Regions from separate parts of the Homo sapiens genome. Here all the other regions are linked to region 1. The links are contacts of gene promoters, found by promoter capture Hi-C in blood cells and fetal thymus (Javierre and others, 2016). All regions are on one chromosome and are shown on one strand. Each heading gives the region's core, a stretch centred on a gene start or on the middle of the fragment in contact. The rest is flanking DNA. Distances are from core to core; before and after follow the strand shown. Region 1 holds the start of SPINT1 (serine peptidase inhibitor, Kunitz type 1). Region 2 overlaps CHP1 (calcineurin like EF-hand protein 1). Region 3 has its middle 47 kb from the start of CHST14. Region 4 has its middle 7.8 kb from the start of TRS-GCT4-2.

Region 1 (2,897 bases), core at 215-2,714:
GCCAAAAAGGTGAAACCTCGTTTCTACTAAAAATACAAAAATTAGCTCGGCGTGGTGGTGCCCACCTGTAAGCCCAGCTACTTGGGAGGCTGAGGCAGAATTTCCTGAATCTGGAAGGCAGAGGTTGCAGTGAGCCGAGATCGTGCCATTGCACTCCAGCCTGGGTGACAGAGCAAGACTCCGTCTCAAAAAAAAAAAAAAAAAAATAAATAAATAAATAAATAAAGATTCTTGAATGTGTTAGCCATAAGGGGAAATCAAATCACAACAAAACCCTTTCTTCCCAGTGACTGCACAATCATTTTCTTCATTCCCAGCATACCACCATTGTTGTATATCCACCAGTGTGCCAGGGTCTGTGGATAAACCCTAAACATCCAGAGAAGGGGAGACAGGCCCCAGATTCCCACCCCAACACGCATCATGTGAGCAGCTGGAGGATGTTGCAGTTCAGCAAAATCCAAGGGTTGGCCACAGGATCTGCTAGGCAAAGCTGCTCTGGATGAGAAACTGGGAAGAATGTTCCCATTGGTTTGGGGGTTGTTAAGCCATCAGGAAAAGGTTTGGAATCTGTATTTTAAGAGAGCATGCTATGTGATTCCTTCCTCCAGCCCTGCCTTCATCTGTCTTTCACCTGTTCAGACCCTTGCCGTAGAGAATGGTCTCTTAAGAGTTTTTTACTCAGGAGGAGCAATGAGCTTGGCTTCAAGGAGTCCACTGTTTCGTGAAGGGCATTAACTCAGCTACTTGGTGAACTGGAACCTCCAGGCTTCCAAGGATGACATTTCCCTGGAAGAAAGTAGCCAGCAGCGTCCCCTTTGTGAAAGAGAGGAAGCCTGGGCTCCAGGGAAGGGGGCAACAGTCCAATGAGCCATAGCAGGGAATGGACCGAACTGTACATACAAGATGAGGAGGGGCCTCGAACAACAGGGAAGCCCCGTGGAGCACGCAGGGGAGCCTGGACGCGGGGAATCGCCTCCGTTTCTCACCCTGACAGCAGGGAGGGCTTCCCGGAGCTGACAGTGAGGCAGACATCCCGGATCCCTGTTATCACAGGTGCAGCCACGCAACTTTTGGGTTACCTTCCCGCCACGAAATGGAAATGATTTCCTGAGGGCCGGAAAGATCATTTGCATCGGGCCTCAGGTCTGGGGCTGGGAAAGCAGGCCCCGGCCGGAAAGGAAGACTGGAGGCCGCCGCCCCAGAGGCCGGACCCTCGCGTCCCGGCCGCATCCCCTCCCGGCTGGGTATGCGCTTCGGGCGCGGGGCTCCCTCGCGAGGCTGGACTGGGTGGAGCCCGAGAGCCCCTCCGGGGAGCTGGCTGCCGGGGAGGCACCGGGGCTGCGGGGCCGCGGGGCGGGCCGGGCCTGGAGCTCCGCGCTAGAGGCGGCCGCAGCGCACCGGGCGTGGGCGGGGCCGGCAGCGCAAGGGTGAATGTCGGCCCCGCCCCGACGGCGCTGACTCAGTTTCACCAGAAACCAGGGGGAGAAGGCGGCCGAGCCCCAGCTCTCCGAGCACCGGGTCGGAAGCCGCGACCCGAGCCGCGCAGGAAGCTGGGACCGGAACCTCGGCGGACCCGGCCCCACCCAACTCACCTGCGCAGGTAACCCGGGCCCCCGCGCGCAAGGCCGAGGCGCAGGCGGAGCGGGCTGGAGCATGTCCGGCCCTTTGTTCTGCGCTCGTGCGTGTGTCCGGGTACTTGAGCTCCCTAGCGGTCCGCCTGTCCGTCTGTCTGGCTGCCGGGTCCCTGGAGGGCGCGTGGGAGGGCCGGGCCCGTGCGCCCTCTTCGATCCTGGGGTGCTCCGGTCCCTCCTCCCCGCCACTTCCTCCCGGCCGGCCCGCCTCCTCCAAAGTCTCCCGGGCTGATCAGGTGTGTCTCCTCCTCTGTCCCCTCCCTTCTTCTCAGGTCACCAGCACCCTCGGAACCCAGAGGCCCGCGCTCTGAAGGTGACCCCCCTGGGGAGGAAGGCGATGGCCCCTGCGAGGACGATGGCCCGCGCCCGCCTCGCCCCGGCCGGCATCCCTGCCGTCGCCTTGTGGCTTCTGTGCACGCTCGGCCTCCAGGGCACCCAGGCCGGGCCACCGCCCGCGCCCCCTGGGCTGCCCGCGGGAGCCGACTGCCTGAACAGCTTTACCGCCGGGGTGCCTGGCTTCGTGCTGGACACCAACGCCTCGGTCAGCAACGGAGCTACCTTCCTGGAGTCCCCCACCGTGCGCCGGGGCTGGGACTGCGTGCGCGCCTGCTGCACCACCCAGAACTGCAACTTGGCGCTAGTGGAGCTGCAGCCCGACCGCGGGGAGGACGCCATCGCCGCCTGCTTCCTCATCAACTGCCTCTACGAGCAGAACTTCGTGTGCAAGTTCGCGCCCAGGGAGGGCTTCATCAACTACCTCACGAGGGAAGTGTACCGCTCCTACCGCCAGCTGCGGACCCAGGGCTTTGGAGGTGAGGAGGGTGCCAAGATGGATGGGTTTGGAGAGACTCAAAAAAGGGACTGGTTATGGGGTCCTAGGGGAGACGAACATCAGAGAGGAGTTAAGGAGAGTTCACTTTTTTTTTTCTTTTTCTTTCTTTTTTTTTGCGACGGAGTCTCGCTCTTGTCGCCCAGGCTGGAGTGCAATGGCGCAATCTCTGGTTGCTCACTGCAACCTCCGTCTTCCACGTTCAAGTGATTCTTCTGTCTCAGCCTCCGGAGTAGCTGGAACTACAGGCACCCGCTACCAGACCCGGCTAATTTTTTTTTTTTTTTTTTTTTTTTTTTTTTTGGTACAGACGGGGTTTCACTATGTTGGCCAGGCTGGTCTTGAACTTCTGAACTCAGGTGATCCACCCACCTTGGCCTCCCAAAGTGCTGGGATTATTTCTACCTGAAGCCCTCCTTAGAAGTAGGCAGTAC
Region 2 (2,897 bases), core at 262-2,761, 410 kb after region 1:
ATCCACACAAATCTGTATTTCACATGGTTTTTTTTTTTTTTTTTTTTTTTTTTTTTTGAGATGGAGTCTCACTCTGTCACCAGGCTGGAGTGCAGTGGCGCAATCTTGGCTCACTGCAACCTCCACCTCCCAGGTTCAAGTGATTCTCCTTTCTCAGCCTCCAGAGTAGCTGGGACTACAGGCTCGCGCCACCATGCCCAGCTAATTTTTGTGTTTTTAGTAGAGACGGGGTTTCACCATGTTGGCCAGGATGGTCTTGATCTCTTGACCTCGTGATCCACCTGCCTCAGCCTCCCAAAGTGCTGGGATTACAGGCGTGAGCCACTGTGCCCGGCCTTCGGATGGATCTTATGCTTGTGGTGTTTAGGCCACTTTGGAGTATTTATTTTTTTCTATTAGGTTTATGTTGATGGGTAAATTTGAGAATCTAAGTTTTAGAGAAACTGCCCAGATCTACATTCTACTATAAAGCAACCAGTAATAATAACTTGTTCGTATATTATTTATTTAACAGTTGACAAAGTATTTATTTATTTATTTATTTATTTATTTATTTATTTATTTATTTATTTTGAGACGGAGTCTTGCTCTGTCACCAGGCTGGAGTGCAGTGGCGCAATCTTGGCTCACTGCAACCTCCACCTCCCAGGTTCATGCCATTCTCCTGCCTCAGTCTCCCGAGTAGCTGGGACTACAGGTGCCCGTCACCACGCCTAGCTAATTTTTTGTTTTTTTAGTAGAGACGGGGTTTCACCGTGTTAGCCAGGTTGGTCTTCATCTCTTGACCTCATGATCCTCCCGCCTCGGCCTCCCAAAGTGCTGGGATTACAGGTGTGAGCCACTGCGCCCGGCTGACAAATTATTTTTTATACTCTTTCTGTTTGTTTTGTTTTTTCTGTTTTGAAACAGGGTCTCACTCTGTCACCCAGGCTCGAGGGCAGTGATGTTACCATGGCTCCTTGCAGCCTTGACCTTCTAGGCTCAAACAATCCTCCCGCTTCAGCTTCCCAAGTAGCTGGGACTACAGGCACGTGCCACCATGCCTGGCTAATTTTTTTTTTTTTTTTAAACTTTTTAGAGATGTGGTCTTGCTCTGTTGCCCAGGCTGGTCTCGAACTCCTAGCCTGAAGCAGTTCTTCCACCTTGGCCTCCAAAAGTGCTGGGATTATAGGCTGAGCTGCCATACCCAGCCCTCTTTCTTTTTAACTTTAATACTTTTAGCAATACTGTCCTTGATCTGGGTGACTGGAACTACATTATATATACAATCTAAATTCTAAGAGTAGAGTTAGAAAGTATCAAAGGACAGGTCCATCGGAAGGCCAAGTGTACACCTCCTTATTGAGACTGAAGTTCAGGCTAGGTTGTGCATCACCACTTGATACTAGACTTGGTATTTAAACTGCCTTTTCTCAGCTAAAGTTTCTTAAGCTTGTTAGACATTAAACTGAAGTATGTAGCCATGCAATTCAAATCAGCCTTAGTCTTAATTTAAAAGTGAGTAGTTATTGTTTCTTGACCTCTGTCAGACAGGAGGAGCTACATTTTGATGATAGTGTAGACTTTGTATTACAGAACAAATTATGTAATAAAAGCTTAGTACATGTTTGTTGAATTAAATAATCAGGACCTCGGTAATTTTCTCTTTCATCATCTTAAGCAATCCAGTTATCTTATGAATGACTTCTTCTGGTTCATGCATTGATATAAAATTATTACACTAAATGGTCAAGAAGGACTAGAATCCAGGATGATTGTTCCAGAGCTTTGTGTTCAGTCCACTAGGTCAGTTTCTACCTGTGTCACCAAATGTGGTGGAGAAGAGCTTGCTGAGTTAATTAAGCACCACGTAAACGTTAAACCACAAGAGGAAAAGAGCGTGAAGTCTCCTGGGTACAGTAGGAGTATTTTATTATCTTCCGTCTTTGCTAGCATATATTACAAAGAGGGTGGAGGTATACATTTTATCTGTCTGTAAGTAAACTTCTTGAAGGCAGGAGTAAAATCTAGTTTATAATCTTTTTTTTAACTTTTTATCTGGAAATAATTTTAAACTTGAAGTTACAAGAACAATACAAGATAACTTTTATTCTGATACCCAGATTCACCAATTGTTAACATTTTGTCACATACTTCACTGTTTATTTCCTATAGAAAGGACATTCTCAGATCAAAATCAAGAAAGTTGCATTTTGAAACAGTACCATTATGTAATATTCCATATTTTATATGGTCCATGCTTCATTTTCACATATTATCCAATAATGTCCTTATAGCAGTTTTTTTCCTAGTCCGGGATCATGTGTTGGGTTTTGTTGTGTGTCTCTTTAGCCCCCCCTTGATCTGGAACAATCCTCTGCTTTTCTTTGTCCTCCATGACATTGATATTTTTGAAGACTGCAGCACAGATAAGTTGTAGACAGCTTTGTATTCTTGGCCCAGGAACCAACAAAAGAAAGTTTTTAAAAAATACTTATTGAAAAATTGGGGGACTGGGTGCGGTGGCTCACGCCTGTAATCCCAGGACTTTGGGAGGCTGAGGTGGGTGGATCACCTGAGGTCAGGAGTTCAAGACCAGCCTGGCCAATGTGGTAAAACCCCACCTCTACTAAAAATACAAAAATTGGCCGGGCATGGTAGCACCCGCTTGTAATGCTAGCTACTTGGGAGACTGAAGCAGTAGAATCGCTTGAACCCGGGAGGAGGAGGTTGCAGTGAACCCAGAGATCAAGCCACTACACTCCAGCCTGGGAGCGAAACTCCATCTCAAAAAAATAAAAATAAAGAATTTGGGGGAGAGTAACTTTCATTCAAAAGGTTCAATATTAGGGCTGGGCACCGTGGCTCACTCCTGTAATCCCACCCAGCACTTTGGGAGGCCGAGGCCGGCAGATCAC
Region 3 (2,897 bases), core at 222-2,721, 330 kb before region 1:
AGTCATCCTGGACAGACTGGCCCCAGGCTTGGGTCCCCAAAGTCATTTCTTGAGCCGCTTGAAGGCAGGAGCTGATACAGAGACACAGTAGGTAGTGGTTCTGGAATCTAGTGTACCCACAGTGTAACAAGGAGACCTGCTCTCAACTCTATGGATACAGCAAGGCTCTTCTGTGATGAAAGAAATAATATTGCTGACATATGTGTTTATATTTTAATTAGCTTTCTCTGAGTTACACTGTAGTAACAAATAACCCAAAACTCTTAGTGGCTTACAGTAAGAAGGGTTTATTTCTTATGCACATTTTATGTCGGCTGTGGTCATTGGTGGTTCTGCTCTGTGTTGTCCTCTCCATTCTGGGATCTGGGCAGAAGATGTAGCCTCTATTTGAAATATGTAATCCTCATGGCAGAGGGAAAAGGAAAGTGATAGAAGTCTGCCATAGTTCTTAAACCTTCTGCAGGGAAAAGCATAGTCATTTCCACTTACATTTATTGGCCACCTCAAGTCGTGTGACCATGCCCGCCATTAATGGGACAGTGAAGTGTATTCCTCCTAAAAAGGAGTGCCGCAAGTCACATAGCAAAAGGAGAGGACGTATAATCACCTCACAGGAAAGGATAGAATAAATCAGAACCAATAATGCAACCAACTATGGTAGAATTCTTTTTTTTTTTTAATTGAAACAGAGTTTCACTCTTGTTGTCCAGGCTGGAGTGCAGTGGTGCGATCTCGGCTCACTGCAACCTCCGCCTCCCAGGTTCAAGCAATTCCCCTGCCCCTTCTGAGTAGCTAGGATTACAGGCGCCTGCCACCACGCCTGGCTAATTTTTTGTATTTTTAGTAGAGACGGGGTTTCACCATGTTGGCCACACTGGTCTGGAACTCCTGACCCCAGGTGATCCACCCGCCTCGGCATCCCAAAGTGCTGGGATAACAGGTGTGAGCCACCGCACCCAGCCGGTAGAATTATTTTATACAGGTTCTCTGCACCAACCTTCCAATTTACAGAAAACAGAGAGGGCCAGAGGAACAAGTTAAACAACACCATGAAGAAACACTCACTCAATCCAAAATGTGGAACATTCTGTAAGAAAGCTGGCCTGGAGTCTTCAAAAAGACAATGTTATAGAAAAAGAAAGAAGCGACTCTTCCAGCTTAAAGGATACAACAATTCATAAGCTTGGATTGAATCTGATTTTTAAAAATCTATAATTAGGGACAATTGGGTAAAATGTTATATAAACTAAATATTAGATGATATTAGAGAATTATTGTTAACTTTTTAGGCATGATAATGATTTTGTAGTTATGTAGGGGAATGTCCCTCTTTTAGGAGATACATGCAAATATATTCAGAGGTGAAGTGACATAACATTTGCAATTTACTTTCAAAAGGTTAAGCAAAAAAGTATTCATGGCTGGGCATGGTGGCTCATGCCTATAATCCCAGCACTTTGAGAGGCCGAGGTGGGCAGATCACCTGAGGTCGGGAGTTCAAGACCAGTCTGACCAACATGGAGAAACCCTGTCTCCACTAAAAATACAAAATCAGCTGGGCGTGGTGGCGCATGCCTGAAATCCCAGCTCCTCGGGAGGCTGAGGCAGGAGAATCATTTGAACCCAGGAGGCGGATGTTGTGGTGAGCCGAGATTGCGCCATTGCACTCCAGCCTGGGCAACAAGAGAGAAACTCCATCTCAAAATATATATATATATTTATAAAGAGAGAGAGCAAAGTTGTATAATGCCTAAAATGTTGAAGCTTGGTGGAGAGTGGAGGGGTGTTAATACTATTCCTTCAAATTTGCTGTTTTTAAAATTCGTAAAAATAAAAAAATAGGAGAAGTATATAGGTGTAGTTGTGATTAATAAAAATAAAGCGGCAGAGTGCAGTGGCCTCACACCTGTAATCCCAGCAGTTTGGGAGTCTGAGGCGGGGTGGATCACGAGGTCAGGAGTTTAATACCAGCCTGACCAACATGGTAAAACCCCGTCTCTATTAAAATCAGAAAAATTAGCCAGTCATGGTGGTGGGCGCCATTAATCCCACTACTCAGGAGGCTGAGGCAGGAGAATCCCTTGAACCCAGGAGGCGGAGGTTGCAGTGAGCCGAGACTGCACCATTGCACTCCAGCCTGGGCAACAGAGCGAGACTTGGTCTCAAAAAATAAATAAATAAATAAATAAAGCTCACTTTAAAATGTTTCTGAATTTATCTTAAACAAAGTAACATGAGGAGAAAAAGAAAAATTATTTTGAAAAAGAATAAAATGTTTCTGAACTTATAGTATTTTTTAAATCGTTATAATTTTCTCTATTGGTTTAATCTCCACTAACATATGAGGAGAAAGCCCTTAATTTTTATTTTATTTTATCTTAATTTTTTTAGAGACAGCGTCTCAGTCTGTCAACCAGGCTGGAGTGCAGTGCCACGATCATAGCTCACTGTAGCCTCAAACTCCCAGCACTGTGGGAGGCTGAGGCAGGAGGATCACTTGAGCCCACGAATTTGAAGCTGTAGTGAGCTATGATCACGCTACTGCACAAAGTGAGACCCCGTCTCAAAAAAATTAAAAATAAATAAATAAGGTAGAAAGCCTCCTAATTAAGCCTTTCTGGAAAGTCTTAACTAATATACTGTATTATATGAAACACCTTACAAACTTCATATCCACTTTGTCTTGGGAATTTAACTAAGAAAAGAACCGTGGATTTCTGTAAAGATTCAGCAACAAGGAAGTTCATCCCAGCATTATTTACTTCAGTGAAAAAAAAATGGGTATAATTTAAGTGTTCCAACAATAGTTGGTTAAATAAACTATGGCCCAGTCACCCAAAGAAAGGAATACAATACAGCCATCAAAAATTATGTTGTGGGCCGGGTGTGGTGGCTCA
Region 4 (2,897 bases), core at 273-2,772, 260 kb before region 1:
TGTGACCAGTTTTTAGTTGGGTAAGTTTACTGTGGTCCTGACGAGGTATCATCACCAAAGGCACTCATTCTGCTTAGAACACTGTCTTGTACATGGTGAACAATATTGTCTATGATTATGATTTTTGTTTTCTTCCCCTCCAAGTCCTCTGTCATCCTCTTCTTTTCATTTGAAGCTTGTCCACGTTTTCAAAACTGCAACATTTTTGTCAACCATTAACTAGGTGAAAACAGTTAAGAATTGCCTACTAAAGTTGAACACACACATAACCAATGACTCTACTTCTAGCTATCTACCTACAGAAACACTTGTACATGTGCCCCAAGAGACATATAAAAACAGTCACAGCAGTGTTCTTGCAGCAAAAGACTGGAGATAACAAAAATATCCATCAATAAGAGAATGGATACCTAATTGTATGTTCAGATAATTGCAAACTAATCAGCAGTGAAAATGAACGAATTATACGGATAAAACAGTGTCCAGTGACAGAAGTTACAGATGAATACGTTATATAAAATGAATACATTATATAAAATTAAAAAACAGACAAAACATATTTAAGACTACAAATATGTATAAATATGTATATTTGGTAAGAAAAACAAGAGAATGATTAACATGAAATTCAGAAAAGTTGTTATCTTTGCCAGACACGGTGGCTCACGCCTGTAATCCCAGCACTTTGGGAGGCCAAGGCAGGTGGATCACGAGGTCAGGAGATCGAGACCATCTTGGCTAACACGGTGAAACCCCGTCTCTACTACAAATACAAAAAATTAGCCAGGCGTGGTGACATGCACCGCAATCCCAGCTTCTCGGGAGGCTGAGGCAGGAGAATCGCATGAACCCGGGAGGCGGAGTTTGCAGTGAGCCGAGATCGCGCCACTGCACTCCAGCCGGGGGCGACAGAGTGTGACTCCGTCTCAAACAAACAAACAAACAAACAAACAAAAAGTAGTTACCTTTTTTTTTTTTGGAAATGGAGTCTCACTCTGTCTCCCTGGCTGGAGTGCAGTGGCGGGATCTTGGCTCACTGCAACCTCCGCCTCCCAGGTTCAAGCGATTCTCCTGCCTCAGCCTCCCGAGTAGCTGGGATTATAGGCGCCCGCCACCACGCCTGGCTAATTTTTTGTATTTTTTTTTTTTTTAGTAGAGACAGGGTTTCACCATATTGGTGAGGCTGGTCTCAAACTCCTGACCTCGTGGTCTGCCTGCCTCATCCTCACAAAGTGCTGAGATTACAGGCGTGAGCCACTGTGCCCGGCCAAAGTAGTTATCTTTTTGGTGGGAGGATGCCTCCAGGAAGGGACACACAGGAAGCATCAAAGGTGCTAGTAATCTGCCACCTGCCAAGAGGGTAGGAAAAAAAAATTAAAATAATTAAAAATCATTTTTTAAAAAAGAAACAAAGGGGCTGGTAATGTTCTATTTCTCAAGCTGGGTGGTGTATATACAGCATTGCTGTTTTTTTCTTTCTTTCTTTCTTTCTTTTTTTTTTCGGAGACAAGGTCCTGCTCTGTTGCCCAGGCTGGATTGCAGTGGCACGATCATGGCTCACTGTACTCTCGACCTCCCAGGTTCAAGTGATCCTCCCACTTCAGCCTCCTGAGTAGCTGGGACCGCAGCACACACCAGCACACCCAGCTAATTTTTGCATTTTTGGTAGAGACAGGGTTTTGCCATGTTTCCCAGGCCTGTCTGGAACTCTTGGGCTCAAGTGATTCACCCATTTGAGCCTCTTGAGTAGCTGAGAATATGGGTGCATACCACCACACCTGGCTAATTTTTAATATTTTGTAGAGACAGAGTCTCACTGTGTTACCTAGGCTGGTCTCGAACTACTGGCCTCAAGCGATCGTCCCCAACCTTGGCCTCCCAAAGTGCTGGGATTACATGTGTGAGCCACTGCACCTGGCCTTATTATTGTTATTTTTAAACTGTACATGCATATTACATTACGTATGTATGTATTGTATAATTGTGTAATACTATCAAGATAAAACTTTTAAACAACAAATATTAAAATATCTCACCTCTTTTTTTTAACATTTGGTTATCTCTGAAATAGTGACTCTCCTCTTTCAGTCCCACTGCACAACTCTTTAAGATCCATTTGACCTTCACACAGCTGGTGGGTGCTACTCCAAAGTGCCTAGACCATGGGTTGTTTTCACCAGTGGTGGAAAGATAACACCATACACCTAGTATTTTGGAGACTATAATGGTAAGCAATAATTAATAATTTGCAAAAATGGGCCAGGCGCTTGGTGGCTCACACCTATAATCCCAGCACTTTGGGAGGCTGAGGTGGGCGGATCATGAGGTCAGGAGATCGAGACCATCCTGGCTAACACGGTAAAAGCCTGTCTCTACTAAAAATACAAAAAAAAAATTAGCCAGGCATGGTGGCGGGCGCCTGTAGTCCACCTACTAGGGAGGCTGAGGCAGGAGAATGGCATGAACCCAGGAGGTGGAGCTTGCAGTGAGCTGAGATAGCGCCAGTGCACTCCAGCCTGGGCGACAGAGCAAGACTCCGTTTCAAAAATAATAATAATAATAATTTGCAAAAATGACTAACTGCTTTAATTTGCCTTAGCAGATTCAAATACAACTTCTCCATCATAAAAGAACTGAGGGATCTAAAAGCAGTTCATGGCTTTGGAATTCTAGACCCCGCATGCTCTCCGACACAAAGAGCCCAAGAACTTGCATCTTCTATCTCTTCATTACCAAGACATCTAGACAAAAGGTTCTTGAAAATGTTTTAGTAATTCAAGTAAATAATAAGTGATGCAATTATTCTGGTTCTTTTTTCTTTCCAACATTCCAAATGTTGAAGTTAAAGTAGGTTAGGAATTTTAAAAGGAAAGCTTTATATCTGATCTAAATGCCAA

The links. The method cuts DNA at HindIII sites, captures the fragments that hold promoters and counts their contacts. A CHiCAGO score of 5 or more calls a contact.
Region 2: a contact is called between a fragment that was not itself captured here and the fragment with the promoter of SPINT1 in region 1, in 1 of 17 cell types (total B cells). The highest score is 5.3, in total B cells.
Region 3: a contact is called between a fragment that was not itself captured here and the fragment with the promoter of SPINT1 in region 1, in 1 of 17 cell types (endothelial precursors). The highest score is 5.3, in endothelial precursors.
Region 4: a contact is called between a fragment that was not itself captured here and the fragment with the promoter of SPINT1 in region 1, in 2 of 17 cell types (endothelial precursors and M1 macrophages). The highest score is 6.2, in endothelial precursors.

Annotation. Positions count from the first base shown.
Region 1 is chr15:40,842,584-40,845,480 of GRCh38, forward strand. SPINT1 (serine peptidase inhibitor, Kunitz type 1) reads left to right here and starts at 1,465. Exons shown (of 11, transcript NM_003710.4): 1 at 1,465-1,603; 2 at 1,907-2,446. The coding sequence starts at 1,972. It overlaps SPINT1-AS1 (SPINT1 antisense RNA 1), which reads right to left and starts at 1,941. Exons shown (of 2, transcript NR_146468.1): 1 at 1,596-1,941. RefSeq lists silencers at 903-1,085, 1,247-1,476, 1,557-1,616, 1,907-2,146 and an enhancer at 1,038-1,609. The HindIII fragment of the contact is 21,246 bases long and covers 1-2,897 here.
Region 2 is chr15:41,252,901-41,255,797 of GRCh38, forward strand. All of the region lies in intron 2 of CHP1 (calcineurin like EF-hand protein 1), which reads left to right. Among named protein-coding and RNA genes, the nearest start is that of CHP1, 23 kb to the left of the region's middle. The HindIII fragment of the contact is 164 bases long and covers 1,430-1,593 here.
Region 3 is chr15:40,516,318-40,519,214 of GRCh38, forward strand. No RefSeq gene overlaps it. Among named protein-coding and RNA genes, the nearest start is that of CHST14, 47 kb to the left of the region's middle. The HindIII fragment of the contact is 582 bases long and covers 1,181-1,762 here.
Region 4 is chr15:40,584,627-40,587,523 of GRCh38, forward strand. No RefSeq gene overlaps it. Among named protein-coding and RNA genes, the nearest start is that of TRS-GCT4-2, 7.8 kb to the right of the region's middle. The HindIII fragment of the contact is 2,698 bases long and covers 174-2,871 here.